Regions from separate parts of the Homo sapiens genome. Here region 2 is linked to region 1. The links are contacts of gene promoters, found by promoter capture Hi-C in human tissues and cell types (Jung and others, 2019). All regions are on one chromosome and are shown on one strand. Each heading gives the region's core, a stretch centred on a gene start or on the middle of the fragment in contact. The rest is flanking DNA. Distances are from core to core; before and after follow the strand shown.

What was found. Contacts are between HindIII fragments. The study calls those that stand out against the background at their distance.
Region 2: a contact is called between a fragment that was not itself captured here and the fragment with the promoter of PPP6R2 in region 1, in 1 of the 25 tissues and cell types used here (dorsolateral prefrontal cortex).

What each region holds. Positions count from the first base shown.
Region 1 is chr22:50,342,021-50,346,871 of GRCh38, forward strand. PPP6R2 (protein phosphatase 6 regulatory subunit 2) reads left to right here and starts at 1,307. Exons shown (of 24, transcript NM_001242898.2): 1 at 1,307-1,530. RefSeq lists an enhancer at 15-661 and silencers at 758-927, 1,198-1,477, 1,488-1,567. The HindIII fragment of the contact is 17,181 bases long and covers 1-4,851 here.
Region 2 is chr22:50,715,494-50,720,344 of GRCh38, forward strand. It overlaps SHANK3 (SH3 and multiple ankyrin repeat domains 3), which reads left to right. Exons shown (of 25, transcript NM_001372044.2): 23 at 176-260; 24 at 4,691-4,851. Among named protein-coding and RNA genes, the nearest start is that of ACR, 20 kb to the right of the region's middle. The HindIII fragment of the contact is 5,276 bases long and covers 1-4,851 here.

The DNA of each region.
Region 1 (4,851 bases), core at 57-2,556:
CCTGCTCACCCCAGTTGCACTGGCTGAGCACAGGAGGGGTATCAAGATCAGGCAGAGTTGCACGTGCTCACGGCAGCAGGAGCATCTCCTGCATCTGGTGCCCCTGGCCCCAGTCCCCATTCCGTAGCTCAACTCAGCAGCACCTCCCGCTCCTGCAAAGGAGACCATGGTGAGGGCAGGAGAAGGGCATAGCCTGCTGAACGCAGGGTGTCTCTTCTCTAGGTTGTGAGGCTGAGGCTTTTTCACCCCCACTTCCTGGAAGTTCCCTCAACGGAACCTGCCAGAAATCTGCCCCTTAGGATGCTAGGGGAAAAGCTTTTGCTGGGGAAAGGCTCGCCAGAGGCATCTGCTATAAAACCGGCGAGGAGGGTGCTGCTGACCAGGGCAGGGGACAGGCGTCGGGGAAGCCCGGGGCCGCCAGCCGCAGGGCCAAGCCCTTTTCTCCTGCAACGTCTCTGGCGCCCTCTACCGACAAAGCCTAACAGCGCCAGCTGGCAAAAGAGAAATACCGAATATTTGAGCCGCCCAGATACGCTTTCGCAGAGAGCATCGGTGAATCCTGGGCAATACACTGACAACTGGAAAAAACGTTTAGAGATCCCTTAAGTGCTCCATGTTTTCCCAACATTTACCCACGGCTCGCTCTAACATCTGAAATAATAGTAATCATTTTTGAAATTATTTTGATGGAATTAAACAATTCCAGCACTTGTTAAATAGGCACATACTTAATTTGCAAAACGCCGTGCAAGAACCCGTAGCGCACCTGGAGAAAACTGTCTGGAGGCGGCTCAGGCACTCCGGGTCCAGGCAGGACGCGGGACGGGGAGGGGCCAGGCCTGGCGCCCGGGGCTGAGCCCGCTCCTGCTGCTCGGGGCGTCCACGCCCCGCGGCCTCTGGGAGGGGCCTGTGGCAGGAGGGAGGCCCGGGAGAACAGGCCCTTTCCTGGGCCACGGGGGAAACCCCTGCCCCAGGTGTGTGTCTCTCAAATGCTGCGTCGGGCCACGCGAGGATTGTTTTGTGGCTACAACAAAATTAACTATGCTTGCACAAAACTTTAGCCAATACCTCAAAGGGAAACGTAAAAGGGGAAAGACGCACTCTTACCCCACCCACTCCAAGGCAGCAGTCAGCACACCCAAGCCCTCGTGCTCCCACGCGGGTTTCACCGAGTGCCCCACTCCAGGGGGCCCGGAGAGCCGGCCCAGGTCCCGGCCCCGCCCACCCGCGCGGCCCCGCCCCCGGCCGCGAGCGTGCGCGCCCCAAGCGGAGACCCCGCCCCCGGAGCGCGTGCCCGTGCGCCGCCGCCGCCATTTTGGAGCGATCGGAGTGCCGCCCGCGGCCCCGAGTCGGTCTCGAGCCGCCGGCCGGCCGTGCCGGTGTCCGTAGGCGCTGCGCCCTCGGCCGGGCCCATGTGTGTGCGGCCCGCCCGAGGCCGCCCGGGCTTTGCCTCCACCAGCGCCCTGGCCTCCGCTCGGGCCTCCACACGGGCCTCCGAAGAGCTGCCGCGACGCCCGGCCCGCAGGGCAGGTGAGTGCGGCCGCCCGCCGCTCAGACCCGGCCCCCAGTCTGCCAGTGCCCCCCAAGTCACTTCTCCCCGAGTCAGTCAGTGCCCCCTCCAGATAGTTATCCCCCAGTCAGTCAGTTCCCCCTCCAGTCAGTTCCCCCCAGTCGGTGCCCCCGGAGTCAGTGCCCCCCCCAAGTCAGTCAGTGCCCCCTCCAGTCAGTTCCCCCCCAGTTAGTGCACCCTCTAGTCAGTTCCCCCAGTCAGTGCCCCCTCCAGTCAGTTCCCCCCCAGTCAGTTCCCCCCCAGTCAGTTTCCCCCCAGTCAGTTTCCCCCCAGTCAGTGCCCCCCAGTCAGTGCCCCCTCCAGTCAGTTCCCCCCCAGTCAGTGCCCCCTCCAGTCAGTTTCCCCCCAGTCAGTGCCCCCTCCAGTCAGTTCCCCCCCAGTCAGTGCCTCCTCCAGTCAGTTTCCCCCAGTCAGTGCCTCCTCCAGTCAGTTTCCCCCAGTCAGTGCCCCCTCCAGTCAGTTCCCCCCCCAGTCAGTGCCCCCTCTAGTCAGTTCCCCCCCAGTCAGTGCCCCCTCTAGTCAGTTCCCCCCCAGTCAGTGCCCCCTCTAGTCAGTTTCCCCCCAGTCAGTGCCTCCTCCAGTCAGTTTCCCCCAGTCAGTGCCTCCTCCAGTCAGTTTCCCCCAGTCAGTGCCTCCTCCAGTCAGTTTCCCCCAGTCAGTGCCCCCTCCAGTCAGTTCCCCCCAGTCAGTGCCCCCCCAGTCAGTTTCCCCCCAGTCAGTGCCCCCCAGTCAGTGCCCCCCAGTCAGTGCCCCCTCCAGTCAATTCCCCCCAGTCAGTGCCCCCTCCAGTCAGTTCCCCCCCCAGTCAGTGCCCCCTTCAGTCAGTTCCCCCAGTCAGTGCCCCCTCCAGTCAGTTCCCCCCCAGTCAGTGCCCCCCCAGTCAGTTTCCCCCCAGTCAGTGCCCCCCAGTCAGTGCCCCCTCCAGTCAATTCCCCCCAGTCAGTGCCCCCTCCAGTCAATTCCCCCCAGTCAGTGCCTCCTCCAGTCAGTTTCCCCCAGTCAGTGCCCCCTCCAGTCAGTTCCCCCCAGTCAGTGCCCCCCCAGTCAGTTTCCCCCCAGTCAGTGCCCCCCAGTCAGTGCCCCCTCCAGTCAATTCCCCCTAGTCAGTGCCCCCTCCAGTCAGTTCCCCCCCAGTCAGTGCCTCCTCCAGTCAGTTTCCCCCAGTCAGTGCCTCCTCCAGTCAGTTTCCCCCAGTCAGTGCCCCCTCCAGTCAGTTCCCCCCCCAGTCAGTGCCCCCTCTAGTCAGTTCCCCCCCAGTCAGTGCCCCCTCTAGTCAGTTCCCCCCCAGTCAGTGCCCCCTCTAGTCAGTTCCCCCCCAGTCAGTGCCCCCTCTAGTCAGTTCCCCCCCAGTCAGTGCCCCCTCTAGTCAGTTTCCCCCCAGTCAGTGCCTCCTCCAGTCAGTTTCCCCCAGTCAGTGCCTCCTCCAGTCAGTTTCCCCCAGTCAGTGCCTCCTCCAGTCAGTTTCCCCCAGTCAGTGCCCCCTCCAGTCAGTTCCCCCCAGTCAGTGCCCCCCCAGTCAGTTTCCCCCCAGTCAGTGCCCCCCAGTCAGTGCCCCCTCCAGTCAATTCCCCCCAGTCAGTGCCCCCTCCAGTCAGTTCCCCCCCAAGTCAGTGCCCCCTCCAGTCAGTTCCCCCAGTCAGTGCCCCCTCCAGTCAGTTCCCCCCCAGTCAGTGCCTCCTCCAGTCAGTTTCCCCCAGTCAGTGCCCCCTCCAGTCAGTTCCCCCCCCAGTCAGTGCCCCCTCCAGTCAGTTCCCCCCCCCAGTCAGTACACCCTCTAGTCAGTTCCCCCAGTCAGTGCCCCCTCCAGTCAGTTCCCCCCAGTCAGTTTCCCCCCAGTCAGTTTCCCTCCAGTCAGTGCCCCCCAGTCAGTGCCCCCTCCAGTCAGTGCCCCCTCCAGTCAGTTTCCCCCCAGTCAGTGCCCCCTCCAGTCAGTTCCCCCCAGTCAGTTTTCCCCCAGTCAGTTTCCCTCCAGTCAGTGCCCCCCAGTCAGTGCCCCCTCCAGTCAGTGCCCCCTCCAGTCAGTTTCCCCCCAGTCAGTGCCCCCTCCAGTCAGTTCCCCCCCAGTCAGTTTCCCCCCAGTCAGTTTCCCTCCAGTCAGTGCCCCCTCCAGTCAGTTCCCCCCATCAGTGCCCCCCTAGTCAGTGCCCCCTCCAGTCAGTTCCCCCCCCCCGGTCAGTTCCCCCCCCCAGTCAGTGCCCCCTCCAGTCAGTTTCCCCCCAGTCAGTGCCCCCCAAGTCAGTGCCCCCTCCAGTCAGTTCCCCCCCAGTCAGTGCCCCCCTCCAGTCAGTTCCCCCCAGTCAGTGCATCCTCTAGTCAGTTCCCCCCAGTCAGTGAACCCTCCAGTCAGTGACCCACCCAGTCAGTGCCCCCTCCAGTCAGTTCCCCCCCAGTCAGTGCCCCCCTCCAGTCAGTTCCCCCCAGTCAGTGCATCCTCTAGTCAGTTCCCCCCAGTCAGTGAACCCTCCAGTCAGTGACCCACCCAGTCAGTGCCCCCTCCAGTCAGTTCCCCCAGTCAGTTGCCCCCCAGTCAGTGCCCCCCAAGTCAGTCAGTTCCCCCTCCAGTCAGTTCCCCCAGTCAGTCAGTGCCCCCCAGTCAGTGCCCCCCCCAAGTCAGTCACTGTCCCCTCCAGTCAGTGCCCCTCCAGTAAGTTCTCCCCAGTCAGTGCATCCCCTAGTCAGTTCCCCCCAGTCAGTGCCCCCTTCAGTGTCCCCCAGTCAGTTCCCCTCAGTCAGTGCCCCCCCAGTCAGTTCCCCCCGCAATCAGTTCCCCCGTCAGTGCCCCCTCCAGTCAGTGCCCCCCAAATCAGTGCCCCCAGTCAGTGCCCACTCCAGTCAGTTCCCCTCCAGTAAGTGCCCCCCAAGTCAGTTTCCTCCCAAGTCAGGGCCCCCTCCAGTCAGTTCCCTCCCAGTCAGTCAGTGCCCCCCCAGTCAGTGCCCTCCTTCTGTTCCCCCACCCTACACCAGTCAGTGCTTCCTGCACCAGTCAGTGTCCCCTGCTAGCTAGTCATTGCACCTCACCCATCAGTCCCCACCCCACCCATCAGTGCCCCCCACCGTCAGTCAGTGCCCCTTGCAAGTCATGCTCCTCCTGTCGGTCAGTGCCTCCGCATCTGTCAGTCCGCGCACTGGTCAGTGCCTCCACTGTTGGTCAGTGCTCCCCCACCGTCAGTCCACTCTGCTCCCCATCAGTGTCCCCCAGTCAGAGTCCCGCATCCCTGTCCCCCGTCAGCCAGTGCCCCCCCAGTCAATTATTTTCTTTCTGTCATGTCCCCACTTCCCAT
Region 2 (4,851 bases), core at 1,175-3,674, 370 kb after region 1:
GCTGCATCCTCTGCTCCCTGAGGGCAGAGTCCAGACGTGATTCCTGGGTCCAGGCACCCACAGGCACTAGTGCCATTGGAGTGAGAGCGTGGGGTGTCTCACCTCTGGCTTAGGAGGAGGACTGGGGGCCCCCAGTGCCCTGGAACCTCCATATTCCCCTCCCTGACCCCCACAGTCATTGTTTGAACGCCAGGGCCTCCCAGGCCCAGAGAAGCTGCCGGGCTCCTTGCGGAAGGGGATTCCACGGACCAAGTCTGTAGGTATGGCTGCGCTGTGGGGCTGCATGGGGTGGGGAGGAACGGGGCTGGGGCCGGCAGGGTGGACTTGGGTTTGAAGGACACTGCCTCTCTCTGCCCATAACTGGGGTTTCCAGTTTCCCTCTCAGTCCTGTCTCTTCCTGGCCCCAGCTAAAGGATCTCATACGTTGATGGACATGTGGGGATTAGGCCTTCCCCAACCCAGAGCTTTCCCCCGGCAGCCGACACTCCCTGTCCAGTGGGCACCGCCCCCCATCGCCTCATCCCTCCCATGGGCAGTCTCATCCCTGTCCCCAGCTGCCACTCCCTGTCCACTGGGCACCCCCACCTCCCCATCACCTCTCATCCCTCCCATGGGCAGCCTCATCCCTGTCCCCAGCTGCCACTCCCTGTCCACTGGGCACCCCCACCTCCCCATCACCTCTCATCCTTCCCATGGGCAGCCTCATCCCTGTCCCCAGCTCAGCTGCCTCCATCGCGGTTGCTCCCTTGCAGCCCAAGTGCATGTGAAGTTTCTGACCCTCAAACCCCCTGAACTTGCCTCTCCCCTACTTCTCCATGTATTGCTGTCTCCCCCCTTCACAGCCAGTTTTCCCCAAAAAGTCACCTCTACTGTCCATCTTGTCTCCCGTCCCCCACCGGCTCCTCAGCCTGCGGCAGACTTCCTCTCTCCATACCCAAATTGAAACTGCTCCCACCAGGGTCACCGGCGGCCTCCAGGGCCTTCCTCCCCATGGATGCATGGCCAGCACTCCTGCTGACCTCAGCTGGCATTTGGTTTCTTTGCTCCTTCTTCCGTGAAACGCTCCTCCCCAAAGCTTTAGGACAACACTTACTGGTTTTCCCCTCCTTTCTCAGATGGCACCTATTTCAACCCTGCCGCCCCAGCCTCCCAAATATGGGACCTTTTCAAGGCTGTGTCTTCAGCCTCCTTCCCCTCTGTGCCTCACCACTCCCCAGCCACCATCACACTCCACACTCACCGTCTCCTTTCCTGACCCAGATGGGGACATGTAACAAGCCCTGCCCACTGTGCATCCCTCCAGACATCCACTCTCCCGTCCCCTGCCCACCTGTGCATCTGTCCACCCACACACCTGCCCACTTGACCGTCCGTTGTCCATACAAACCCCAGCACACCTCCCATCTGTTACACATAGGAGTAAACCTCTCAGCACTTACTACGGGCTGGACACTGAGCATTTAATACTTAGAATAACCATATTGAGGTTGAGACCACTAGTACCTCCATTTTACAGATGAGAAAACTGAAGCAAGGAGGGTAAATGACCTGCCCAAGATCACACAGCTGCCCAAACTCGGATTCCTCACCTGCCTCAGGACCCTGCCAATTTGTGTTCACACAAGGCCGATCCTGGGCCAAGTCTGGGGCTTGGTTAGGGAATGTGACGTGTGCAGAGAGCTCAGCGGGCACATTGTGGGTGCCAGGGCTCACGGACCAATGGAGCCCACTGGGGGGCTCCAAGCACACCTGGTGTCACAGAAGGCTGTGTGTGTCGGGGTGGGGGTACTTTTGAGCTAAGATGTGCAAGATAAATGGGAGTTTCTGGGCGATAATGGGGTGAACTGACAGAGCAGTGTGGAAAAGGCATATGGGTGTGTGACCTGGTCCCTCAGAGACTGCCAAGAGTTATTTCTGTAGGTGGGATTGTGGGGAAGAAGGCTGGTGAGGCTGCAGCTACTTTGGAGCTGAGAAGCGCTCTCCCCTGCTCTCCCTGGCCTAAACACTGAGTGTCTTCCATGGTTTCTTTCTTATCCTCTGCCTCACCTGATGTGTCGGGGTGGGTGGCCTCACAGCCCTGCCCTGCACAGGTCTCATCACCTTGCAGCTGGACCATGGCTTTGTTCTCATGACTGCCTGCCCTGGCTCTGCCCTCTGGTCCATCCCTCTGGCCAAATCAGGCTTTCCGCAGAGCTGCTATCACCCCATATCCGTCCAGCTTGACCCTCTGTGCACTCCTCATTGCCTCAGGGCCCTGGAGATCGGCCCCAGTGCTCTCCTGCTTCATCTGGAAACATTTGTCTCTGCCTCCCTTGACCTGGGTCTTCTGACTCTTGCTGTTCCTGGGCCCGACCCTGCAGGTCTAGGTCCATGCACCTGCCCTGCAGGCCTTGAGCCACTCTCCTAGGACTGCCAGTTCTGCACTGGTCCCTCAGGCACCCTCTTGTACTCGGTTGATGGATGGGTGGACAGGTGCTCCTTTTTGGCTCCTCTTGGCCTGCTGGGCCTCAGCTGCCAGCATGCACATTGGTTGGGTTGTCAGACTCCCCAGGCCCCTGCCCCATGCCCTGGCTCTGTTGCTCTGGGCACACGATGCAGCCCTTGAAACATCAGGATTTTGATCCATAAACATGGAGACCACCTATTACCCACCTCCAAGGACCACTCTGAGTCTCCCCCGGTAGATGGCACTCACAGACCGCGTGGCATGCTGGGAGTGCTCAGCAGCTGCCAGTGTTAGTAGACGTAGATGCTGCCTCTTGAGGTTGGCACACAGTGGGTGCTCGAGAAATGCTCTCTGCTATGACCTAGGCAGACAAAGAGGGTCTGCCTCTGCCCCCAAGGGGTCCCACCCCCGCCCCAGATGGTATCAGAACAGATTCCCCATTCCATGCTGAGGCAAGTGACTTTTCTTTACCCTAAGTCAGAACTTGGCATGCTATTAGCATTAAGTTTCCCCTTATTTCATCTTTGCACGTCACTCCCGCCTTCTGCATCCTCAAGGTGCGCTCATTCTGCGTCGCTCCATCTAACACATAGGCTGTGGGTGTTCACTGCGTGTTCATACACAGTGCAGGGAATGCAGCAGGAGACCCAGGACGAACTGGGCACAATTTCTCTGTCCAGCGGTTGGGGATGGGGGGAAGGCAGACCTAAAAATCACGATGATGATGACCTCGGCCCCCTTCCCCCATTCCCAGGATACTGCTGCAGTTCAGCCCTGCACTGTAAAGGTGAAATCGCCCCACAATAGTTGCAGGCTGTCCTCTTGACATGAGGAAACTGAAGTTCCTAGAGGCTTCTGAAGTTCCTGGCAGATCTAAAATTCAAGCCTAGGTCTGTACACAAAAGCCCACCCTTGGTACCTTGGCTACAAAGAGATATTATGCCCAGCAAGAAGCAGTGTAGTACTGGAGGCCTCATTAGCACTGCGGTGGCTGGAGGAGGATGCGATCAGGAACAGGCAGTCTGTATTTTAGCGAGTTCATAAAAATGTTGACCAATCTCAGAGTGAGGCTGGGAACAGGAGCACCACGAGACCTGGGTGTGTGGGTGTGGGGCCGTCCGCCCCCTGCAGCCTCACTGAACACACCTGCAGCACGTGTGTCCGCATCATGATGTCCACAGGGGTGTTCAGGAGGTTGTGTCAGGTTCTGCTGGACAGCAGGAGCATGAGGGCCCTGAGCACTCCAGCCCCTGCACAGGACCCTAACAATGATGTCTGAGCAAGGCATGCAGAGGGGGGTTACTGAAGCTCAAAGGGGCTCAGGGCCTGGCCTGGGGTCACGCTGCCAGTAGGGGTTAAAATGAAACATGCTGGGTGCTCAGCCTGCAGTTCCATTTTGATTGATCCGTCCGTTCTTCCCTTCACCCACTCACCCATGCGGGTCTCTGGGAGGAGCCTCTCAAGGCTTCCTCCACAGGGCACCTCCTTACCTGGGTGGGCATTAGGTCTTTCTCTGCTGGAGGCCTGGCTCCAGTGGCCACAGCCCTGCTGCCCCTCACCCTGCCAGTGTGTCACTCCTGCTCATTTCCGACTATCTTCCTCTCACCTCTGGTTGCCTCCAGGGCTGGTACTTCTGCGTCGGCCTTGTTGATTCTGGGGTGGGGAGCCCTGTACTGGCCCCTCCAAGCCCCTCAGCAGTTCTGTCCCCATGTCTTGCGGGGCTGTCCCTGCCTTTCTGGGATATCTTCTCAGGGCCTGCTTGATGACCCTGGGTTTGGGCAGGTCTTGGCCCCAACCCAGGCCGTCAGAGTTTGTGTCCTTTCTCAGGGGTCCCCGGTGGGGCCCTCCTCCATCCTGTAACTGAACGCACACCTCTCTCCTGTCCTCTTCACAAGAGCCCTCCCCGTGCAGCCCTGGGCCTGGGGCACAGAGCTTGGGCATCCAGGGACCAGCCCAGACCAGGGTCTTGCTCGGAGCCCGGGCTCTGGGCTCCCTGTTTCTCCCCTGCCCTCCATTCCCCGCCCACCACGGGTCCCAACCCCATCTTCCCGAGCATTCTAGCTCCTCGCGCCGGGTTCTGCCGCGGGCGTCCATTGTGTCCGGACGGTGGCTTCCCCGGGGTGGAGTCGGGTCAAGGCTGGCCTCTGTGGGAGGGGGTTGCCGGGGTCCCCAGGAACCTCTCCGAAGGCAGCACCACCCCCCGCCCAGCGCCCTGGCTGGTCTCACCGGCCCTTCCGTCCGCAGGGGAGGACGAGAAGCTGGCGTCCCTGCTGGAAGGGCGCTTCCCGCGGAGCACCTCGATGCAAGACCCGGTGCGCGAGGGTCGCGGCATCCCGCCCCCGCCGCAGACCGCGCCGCCTCCCCCGCCCGCGCCCTACTACTTCGACTCGGGGCCGCCCCCGGCC